2 separate regions of the Homo sapiens genome follow, and region 1 is linked to region 2. The links are contacts of gene promoters, found by promoter capture Hi-C in human tissues and cell types (Jung and others, 2019). All regions are on one chromosome and are shown on one strand. The core of a region is centred on a gene start or on the middle of the fragment in contact, and the rest is flanking DNA. Distances in the headings are between cores, read along the strand shown.

Evidence for each region. The method cuts DNA at HindIII sites, captures the fragments that hold promoters and counts their contacts. A contact is called where the count stands out against the background at its distance.
Region 1: a fragment that was not itself captured here is called in contact with the fragment with the promoter of IL6R in region 2 in 2 of the 25 tissues and cell types used here (dorsolateral prefrontal cortex and spleen).

Annotation. Positions count from the first base shown.
Region 1 is chr1:154,603,196-154,608,204 of GRCh38, forward strand. ADAR (adenosine deaminase RNA specific) reads right to left here and starts at 4,991. Exons shown (of 15, transcript NM_001111.5): 1 at 4,797-4,991. The coding sequence starts at 4,811. RefSeq lists a silencer at 4,765-4,874 and an enhancer at 4,875-5,009. The HindIII fragment of the contact is 4,982 bases long and covers 1,130-5,009 here.
Region 2 is chr1:154,402,048-154,406,767 of GRCh38, forward strand. IL6R (interleukin 6 receptor) reads left to right here and starts at 3,296. Exons shown (of 10, transcript NM_000565.4): 1 at 3,296-3,667. The coding sequence starts at 3,583. It overlaps IL6R-AS1 (IL6R antisense RNA 1), which reads right to left and starts at 4,517. Exons shown (of 2, transcript NR_147855.1): 1 at 4,392-4,517; 2 at 274-1,910. RefSeq lists silencers at 3,101-3,230, 3,431-3,580 and an enhancer at 3,820-4,426. The HindIII fragment of the contact is 9,903 bases long and covers 1-4,720 here.

The DNA.
Region 1 (5,009 bases), core at 2,371-4,870, 200 kb after region 2:
TTGGATGAAACTGAACCCCAGTCCTCCAAGGCTGTAACAGCGCAGTAACGAAAACAATCTCCAGGTGGGAAAAGGCCACGGGACCTCAGAGTCATCTCTGTGGCTCTTCACTGCCATCCCAGGAGGATCAGAATTTGGTCTTCAGGGAGCTGGAGGGTTTCCTGATAAAAATGGCACACTGTCCTCACTCTTCAGTGTGGTACCCAGGCTCAGAAGGGATGCCAGAGACTTTTGCCCAAACCACCCAGGCTCTCCTGGATGTGTGGAGCTGGCAGCATCTGCTCCTCACCACCTCAGACCAGTCCTACCTTCCCTAGCTACTTCCCCATAGCTGCTTCCACTGCACGTTCTTCTGAACCCTGACGGACAGGGCACAAGCAACCCCATGTTCTCATATGCACATTTACCAGAACACCAAGCACCTGTGACCCCTTTCCCCACCCACCCACCTGCAAACCAGTACTGTCTTCTCCCCAGGGCTGTTCACTGGAGGGTGATGGAGCCAGGAAGTACTTATAAGCCTGGGGGTGTCAGTAAACACCTTGCTTCCTTTCCCTGGGGCTTGTAGACTGGGAGGAGGGATTCTGACAACATTTACTCACACTCACCGCCCCCTCCTCAGACTCTCCTGGAGGCTGCACAGGTAGAGGTGGGACCCTTTCTTCCATAACTCTAGCCTTCTACTCTTCCACATCCTGACACACTTAGGGGATTTCAGCATTCTTGTCAATCACTCTCATGGTGTCCTGGCTACAAGGATCCTTAACCCAGTGATCTCCATCCCTACCTTTCTGCCACACAATTGGCTTGTCTAGCTACTCCTTCAATCTCACTATGACTCTAACCTAGGCCATCACACCAAGACCTCAAATCCTGCAACTCTTTTCCAGTGGCTGATAAACTTTTTCTATAAAGGGCCAGACAGCTCTGCCACTGTAGCACAAAAACAGCCTCACACAATATGCAAAACTTTATTTACAATTCATTTACCATGAAGCTTTATTTATAAAAACAGGTAGTTTGTACCTGTGGGCCATAGTTTCTTGACTCCTGCTCTTTTCTGATGGTGACTTCCCTGTGTTTCTACAACTTCACTCCTTACTCTGGTGGAACCTGCTCCTCGCATGACCCCGGTGAAGCTGCCAGTAAGCCACCCTGATTCTTCCCCACTCTGACTTCACACACCTCCTCACCCCACCTGGATCTCATGGTCAGTTCCCTTCTCCACCCAAGGCCCACTGTCCCCCTTTTCTTCTCCAAAGCTTCCCAGTGGTACTGGAGAAGGACCTTGACTTGTGCTAACAGGGTCCATAAAAATTCCTTCTCTTGAACCTCATTTGGGTCTTCGCTGTGTGGTGGTCAATTGTGTTTAACAAACATGCCTTAGTTCACTGTGGATTGAGTACTCTTCTTTTAAAAAATTCTCCTCCCAGGGTTTGGTGACACAGCAAAGGTCTTTCACCTCTTTTTTCTTCTTTGTCCCTTTTTCCCACCCCTTATAATTTTTTAATAGCTACTGTATTAACGGATCCACCCTTTATATAATCAGTCTCCAAGGTTTTAAGGACCTCTTCTTCCTTTATAATTTATTTCCTAGGTTGCTTTAATCACTGCCCCAACCTAAACTAGCCCTCTGAAGCAAGAGCACTCAAATCTACTATGTCCAGCCACTACCTTGTGTGGGAGCTTAAGATCTGAATTTCCAACTATGTCGACAGTCTGTCCACTTAAATATCCTGCCATAACTCAAACAGCACATATTCTGAACCAAATTAATAGTTCCCTCAAACTCAGCTCCTTCTCCTGTAGTTCTTATTGCTAATGGCATCACTCTCCTCCTAGCCTATTAAGGCTAGAAACCTGCGTCATCTTTGCTGCCCGCCTCCTGGCCTCATCTCCTGGATCTCATCAGGTAGTTGCCAAGTCCCACCTTGTCTGCCACCTCTGTACTGTGTCTTAAATGTGTTTTCTTCCAGTTCCAGCCCCTCATTACCTCTTACTGGGCCATTGCAAAGGCCTATAATCTTTCTATCCCTCTACATGCCAATCCAGGTGGCACATCTCCCTCCACAGCCACCTATCACAACTCTGACCCTTTCCTTATAGAGCTCCTTAAATGCCACTTGCTTCAGGAGACTCCTGACTCCCACCTTCTTCAGCCCTTGGGGTTTCCTCTCCTTGAGCTTCTCCTACTCAGCACCTGTTAAACCATTTACTTTCCCTCGTATCAGAGCTACTGGATTTTTTTTTTTTTTATGGCACACACACATTGCAGTGTCTGAAAGGTAATTAACATTAGGTGTCCTATAAGTTATACTCAACTCTCCACTCTCAATATTCCCAACACAGTACTGATGAGGGGCTTCAGTTGATTCCATGGTGAGCTCTTGGGGGTCAAGGACTATGCTTCAATCATCTCAACCTCTCTAGCACTTGGCACAAAGCTGATTCTCAACAAACATTTGTTGAATTAATGACTGCATGAACAAGACGCCACTATGCAAGCAATCATTTCTTTCTTGTTCCTCTTGCTGCACCCTCACGCCCACCATATTGCTAGGGACAGAGGCAAATGTGTGTACAGAGTGAGTGCTGGCTCCCAGAGCTGAATTATGGGACTTAGGGGTTCTCCTATTAGCTCTTTGAGTGACCTTGGGAAAAAAAAATTGTGTTTCAAAGTGGCTAGAGTCAGTTAAAAGCTAAATGTTTTTTAAACTGCTACTCTTGGCCCAAATCTGGAAAATATTTTAATGTCTGTCTATAGAAGAATTAAATTATGAAACATTCATTCTATGGAATAGTACTCACACGGTTATTTTTTTTCTTGTGAGACGGAGTCTCGCTCTGTTGCCAAGCTGGAGTGCAGTGGCATGATCTCGGCTCACTGCAATCAGGCTGGAGTGCAGTGTGATCTCAGCTCACTGCAATCTCCGCCTCCCGGGTTCAAGTGATTCTCCTGCCTCAGCCTCCGGAGTAGCTGGGATTACAGGCGCACGCCACCACACCCAGCTAATTTTTGTATTTTTAGTAGAGATGGGGTTTCACCATGCTGGCCAGGATGGTGTCGATCTCCTGATCCGCCCTCCTCGGCCTCCCAAAGTGCTGGGATTACAGGCATGAGCTACCACGCCCGGCCAGTTATTTTATTTTTTTAAAATGTGTCATATCTATTTGTATTCACCTGGGGATAATTTAGGAATCATATAATGTTCAATAAAACAACAAAAAGTTGTAGAATAGTATGTACATTATAATTTTTTTCCCTAAACAAAAAGAGAAAATCCATGAATGTGTATGTGTGCGCACAATGGAATGAACACAGAGAAAAGAAAGGAGATGTAAGTTTGCTAAGGATATCTTAGGGCAGTAGGGTTAGAGGGAGAGGAGGAGATTATTAATCTTTCTTTTTGCCCCCCTTAAATCCCCTAAACACCAAGCCACCGTTGAGTACAGCCATTTGGAAAGCTACGGAATAGGAGAGCAAGAAAGTGAGCAAGCAACCCACAGTGATCCTTTCTAAATCTCTCAGCATCACCTCTATGCAAATTACATAACAACTCATTTAACATTCATTGCCTCCCAGATTTCACTTTAATCTGGTCTCACATATTTAGGATCAAGAGATAAGCACTACCCCCTTTGCCTTTACCACACAGGTTCCACAGTGCAATACACTGACACCTGTGCAGAAATGCTTTTCCTTCAAGTTAGGCGTCCTTAATCCTTTCAAAGGAGTGCTTAAAAAAAAAAAAATATATATATATCTTAACAAAATTGAGGTATATAATTTAGATACAGTAAAATTTATCCTTTTAAGTGTATAAATCTATGAATTTCGACAATCGCCACCACAATCAAGATATAGAACATTTCTATTTCCCTAAAAAGCTTTTTCATGCCACTCAACAATCAATTTCTTCCACGATACCCAGTCCCTGGCACCCACGGATCCACTTTCCATCCCTATAACTGTGGTTTTTTTTTTCCAGAATGTCATATAAATGGACTCATACAGTATGCAGCCTTTTGAGTCTGGCTTCTCGTGCTTAGCATAACGCACTTGCGAGTCACCCGTGTTGTTACTTGTAACAGTATTTCCTCTTCACTACTAAGCAGTATCCCATTATGTGGATGTATTTCAGTTTATCTGTTAACCTGCTGAAGGCCATTTGTGTTTTCCCAGTTTTTAGCTATAAAGTGGTTAACAAGCTTTCTCCTACAGCTTAAGTGCCATTTTTAACTCCCAGAAGGCCTTCAGGAGGTGGATAAGGTGAGCTGAGGATAGTGTGCGCTGCTCAAAGTCCGAACGTTGTTCAAGTGGGGCTAAAGCGGGGGTAGGGGGTTCCACAAGGGGCCCTAGCAGAAAGGGAGACGATGTGTCTGCCTTGACATGGGCTCAGGCCTTCCTACTCAGACGGGGGCGCATTTTCCCCCAAGCCCTCTTCACGCACTGCTCCATTCTGCAGAATTAATGAGCAGGATACAAATTCACAAATTCCTAAACCAGCAATGCTGCTTGGCAAGACTACACACACACGCACACACACACACACACACTCTCACAAGACGCACAAATTCCTAAACCAGCAATGCTGCTTGGCAAGACGACACACACCCACACACACACACTCACAAGACGCACAAATTCCTAAACCAGCAATGCTGCTTGGCAAGACGACACACACACACACACTCTAACACTCACAAGACGCACACGCTACGCACTGCAACACAAAGCCTGTGAGGTTGTAAACGAACCCAGACGGCGGCGAAGGTCCAAGGCCGGCCCGGCTTACCTGCCGCGGATTCATTGCGCCCGCGAGGCATTGCCCGGCCCGACCCGCCGGCGGCACGACCCTGGCCCGACCGCTGGGCCGCGCCAGCCCCTCGAGGCCCCCACGCCTCCGCTACTCCGCACTGGAAGTGGCCCCGGGGCGTCGGCACGGGAAACTCCGCGGGTCTGCGCGCCGGGCCCAAGATGGCTCCGGTTCAATTTCGCTTTCGTTTCC
Region 2 (4,720 bases), core at 2,046-4,545:
CGTTGTCCCTAAAGATGGATTCACATGGTGAATAGAGAATAAAGTGCATAGTTTTAAACTCTCACAGTTGAGAATGGCCCCAACACATCAGCCCAGACCTGGAGGTTGGGGGCAGGGTGGGAATTTAAAAAGACCACTTTGAGTCAGGGTATCTGGGATCTTGACCAGCTCTGTCACCACTGCCTGTGCCATCTTTACCAAGCAACTTCTCTTCTTGAGGCCTAGCTCCTTATCTAAAAAGTGAGGGAGGAGAAGCAATGATGACCAAGTCCCTTTTGGTTTCAAAATAACCTTACATATTTATTCTGTGGGTCTCCTGTAGACTTCTGCTTTAGGCAAACTTTAAGATGCTTCATCGCTTCAGGTGAAAGGTGAGAGAGGACTTGCTTGCTGGGAGTCAGCCTAGGGCTTCCCCCTTTACAGGAGACGGAGGGTCCCTGCAGGAACACCGGTGAAGGAGAGGGTGTCCCACACACCAGGTTCTGCTCTCTGCTCTCCCCTCACAGACTACAGAACACCAAGTGCCTGCTGCCATGGTCTGCAGTGTCTTTGGTCCTGGGTGGGCCGACCGAGCCCTTGCTCAGTGAGAGTCCTGGGCCAGGAGCCAGACCTCACCCTGGAGCTGCCAGTTACTAGTAGTGCAGTTTTGAACAAGCCACTTTACCTCTGTTAGCCTCAGTCTACTCATCTGAAAATTGGGGGCAATGTCTCCCAGCATTCAGGGTTGAGAATTTCAGAGGAGATTGTGTATGTAAAGCAATTTGTAAGCAGCACAGTTATCTGAGAAGTGTTCTGGCTCAGACAACTAAAGTCTTCATTGTTCCTTCTGTTGTCTGGGTGAGGGCAGGTCAGGCTGAATTGTGCAGGTATGCTTTCTTCTCTTTCTTTTTTCTTTTTCTTTTCTTTTTTTTGAGAGGGAGTTTCGTTCTTCTTGCCCAGGCTGGAGTGCAGTGGTGCCATCTCGGTTCACTGCAACCTCCGCCTCCTGGGTTCAAGTGATTCTCCTGCCTCAGCCTCCTGAGTAGCTGGGACTACCGGTACGCACCACCATGCCCGGCTAATTTTTGTATTTTTAGTAGAGATGTGGTTTTACCATGTTGGTCAGGCTGGTCTCGAACTCCTGACCTCATGATCTGCCCACCTTGGCCTCCCAAAGTGCTGGAATTACAGGTGTGAGGCACCACGTCCGGCCTGGCCAGGATTAAATTTTTTCATGTGAACCACAACACTAAAACTTTGTATATTGCTGCGCTTATCTTACAAATCAGGAAATAGGGGTTCAGAGAAGTTAAATAGCTTGCTTAAGTCACACAGCCAGCAAGTGGTAAAGCTGGGATCTGCATGACTACAGAGCACACAGGCTCCCCACCAGTAGATTAGAGAGGGGGAGGTCTGCTTTGGTGCAGAGACAGGTGGGATCTGTGATGCCCGTTCTTGGTTTCAACATTCTTTTAAACTCTCCTATCTGAGCCTAGGACTTTCTGCAGCCTTCCTGTTTTAGGCTGGCAGCTCACAGTCCCTCTCTGGTTATTTTCAGGTCTGTGTGTGCCACAGAGAGGAAGGGGGCAACCACAGTGGGAACCGCTTTCCAGCCCTGCTGCAACCCCTTTTGAAATAGCAGGCGAGAGGGCTGGTGGCCTCCACTGTGCTCTTCTGTTCCTGTCTGTGGGCATGGCTAAAGCAAACAAGCTCACCCACACCAGCTCCCATCGTGCGGTGGATCAGTGCATGTGCTTGGTTCTGTCTGGCACTGCTGATGGGTGGTTCCTACAGAAAGATCCAGATGCACGGGGTCTGAGGACTGTTTCAGAAGCTCTGTCCGTCCATGCCTGGCCCTGTCCACTTGGGAGTTCCATTAGGCCATGCCTGTTCCAGCTGTCCCAGGATCTTTGATCTGGGTTAGGATTGGCCTGAAACCAAAGGTAGAAAAACACATTCTAATGAGCAGTTGCTGGTCTAGAAGCTTCTCAGCCTAAACTTTATTTCAGCATTTTTCTTTCCCTCCAGATTCAGCTATGAGGCCATCCTATCAGCTTTAGGCTCTGTGGGGGTCCTTGAGAGAGTTCCCCTCCAAGGGACGGACAGATGGTCCCCTTCAAGGTCCTTGTGGTTGCTCAAAAGCCAGGTGCTTGTTTCTTTCTTTTTTTCTCTCCTTCCTTTCCTTCCTTCCCCTCTATCCCTCCTTCCCTCCCTCCCTCCCTCCTCCCTTCCTTTTCTTTCTTTCTTTTCTTTTTTTTTTTTTCTTTCCAGACAGGGTCTCACTGTCATCCAGGCTGGAGTAGCAGCCCCCAATCACGGCTCACTGTACCCTGGATCTCCCGGACTCAAGCAATTTTCCCACCTCAGCTTCCCTAGTAGCTGGGACTATAGGTGTGTACCACCACACCCAGCTAATTTTTAAATTTTTTTATAGAAATGGGGGTCTCACTTTGTTACACAGGCTGGTCTAGAATTCCTGGACTGAAGCAATCCACCCACCCGGCTCTCCCAAAGTGTTGGGGTTACAGGCGTGAGCCACTGCCCCTGGTGTTAGTGTCTGTCTGTCAAGTCAGGAGGGCAGCCATGAACGTTCTGATGTCTACTGAGCACGTGTGGCCCAGACCGTGTGTCAGGTGTTTAGGTGCCATCCACAGAACCTTCCTAATAACCCTGGGCAGCATAGGCTTTCTTATCTCTGACAGATGAGGAAATGGAGACTCAGATTCTGAACCGAAGTCACAGACACAGTAGATGGTAGGTCTAAATGGGGACCCAGGTCTATCTGACTGCAAAGTCCAAACCGTTTCCTTGCCTCTGCTGCAGCCTGCGAGGAGCAGCTGGGCAGAAAGACTGTGCCTTTACGGTGGTGAGTCTTCCGATGCCCAAGCCTCACCCCAGACCGATGAAATCAGAATCTCTGGAGACCCGACCCAGACATTGGTGGGTTTTAGGGCTCCTGGCTGATTCCAGTGGGCAACCGGGCTACCAAGCACTGTTTTACCCTAAGGGTAAGAGGAACATCGCCTCCTCGAGGGCTCTCCAGGTGTGCCTTTCACAGCGTAATCCCGTTCACGAAACCAAAAATCAAAACTAGGCCACTGCCCACTGGTGGCTGATACGCCCTTTTCTCATCAACAGAACCGGGAGGAAGGGCTCTGGTGGGGCTGGCGGTCCCCTGTTCTCCCCGCTCAGGTGCGGCGCTGTGGCAGGAAGCCACCCCCTCGGTCGGCCGGTGCGCGGGGCTGTTGCGCCATCCGCTCCGGCTTTCGTAACCGCACCCTGGGACGGCCCAGAGACGCTCCAGCGCGAGTTCCTCAAATGTTTTCCTGCGTTGCCAGGACCGTCCGCCGCTCTGAGTCATGTGCGAGTGGGAAGTCGCACTGACACTGAGCCGGGCCAGAGGGAGAGGAGCCGAGCGCGGCGCGGGGCCGAGGGACTCGCAGTGTGTGTAGAGAGCCGGGCTCCTGCGGATGGGGGCTGCCCCCGGGGCCTGAGCCCGCCTGCCCGCCCACCGCCCCGCCCCGCCCCTGCCACCCCTGCCGCCCGGTTCCCATTAGCCTGTCCGCCTCTGCGGGACCATGGAGTGGTAGCCGAGGAGGAAGCATGCTGGCCGTCGGCTGCGCGCTGCTGGCTGCCCTGCTGGCCGCGCCGGGAGCGGCGCTGGCCCCAAGGCGCTGCCCTGCGCAGGGTAAGGGCTTCGGGCGCACCTGGAGGGCTGGGGCAGCTAGCGGCTGGGGGAAACCGCCTTGGTCACCGCAGTCTGTGGGAGGCTGGAGGGAGGAAAGGAGGTGCGACGGATCCCCTTTTCTGTGGCTGCCTTGAGGCCCCGCGGGTACCTAGCTGTGTGGTCGCGGGTAGTGGCTCTTGCGCCCCCTGCTGCGCTTGCTCCCTTGGTCCGGAGCGCTCCCCGGAATGCCCGGTGAAGCTGTGCGGGAACCCTGCGGTCTGTGTACAGGACTGTGTCCTTGCAAACCTGACTCTCGAGCTTCCTTCCCAGTGCCCCCAGGAGCCTTTACACAACCGCGTCCCAGGTTACTCTAAGGGGAGACTGCCCGAGAGGGCGCGCCCCAGCGGGGTGATGTACCCGCCTGGGGAGTCCTTTGTACCAGCGCCCCTCTTCTCCCTCTGCATTGGGGGTCCACCTCGCCTGGTCCTCCCCCCACCCCCGCGGGTGCATGTGTGGATGACAGTGCCCTGACTATGAAGGGACTGACATCACGGGCGCTGAGTCACGGATCTTCCCGCTGCACGGAGTCACTTTGGCAGCCACCAACTCTGGGAAGCCAAGTGCCCCAGTCCTGGGAATTGAGTCGGGAGGCTGGCAAGGGAGTGAGACCTCCTGGGGCTGGCACGTGCTGGACTCCCCTCTAGAAAAGAGAAGGACCCGTGAGGGAGAGGGCAGAGGCACTTACTGCTCCCGTTGACTGTAATCTGCCCCTGGCAAACCAGGCTTTTCTTGGGCTCTGGCCGCATGCCCAGCTGCGTGTCTAGTCTCTCTTCTGGAAGAGTTGGGCAACTGGCTCTCCAGAGGTTTATTTTAGGGTCCCAGTGCTTCTTTGAGGACACAGCAGAAAACTAAGGGGCAGCTGACAGGCTTCTGGAACAGCTGACAGGCTGGGGAGGCTGAAGGCTAAGACTTTCAACCACTAGATCACACTGAATTCCAGTCCTAGGTGAACACTGATCTCTCCCTTTGAGGAGGTGACTTTCTGCAACTAGAGGCTGAGCTGGAGTGTCTGAG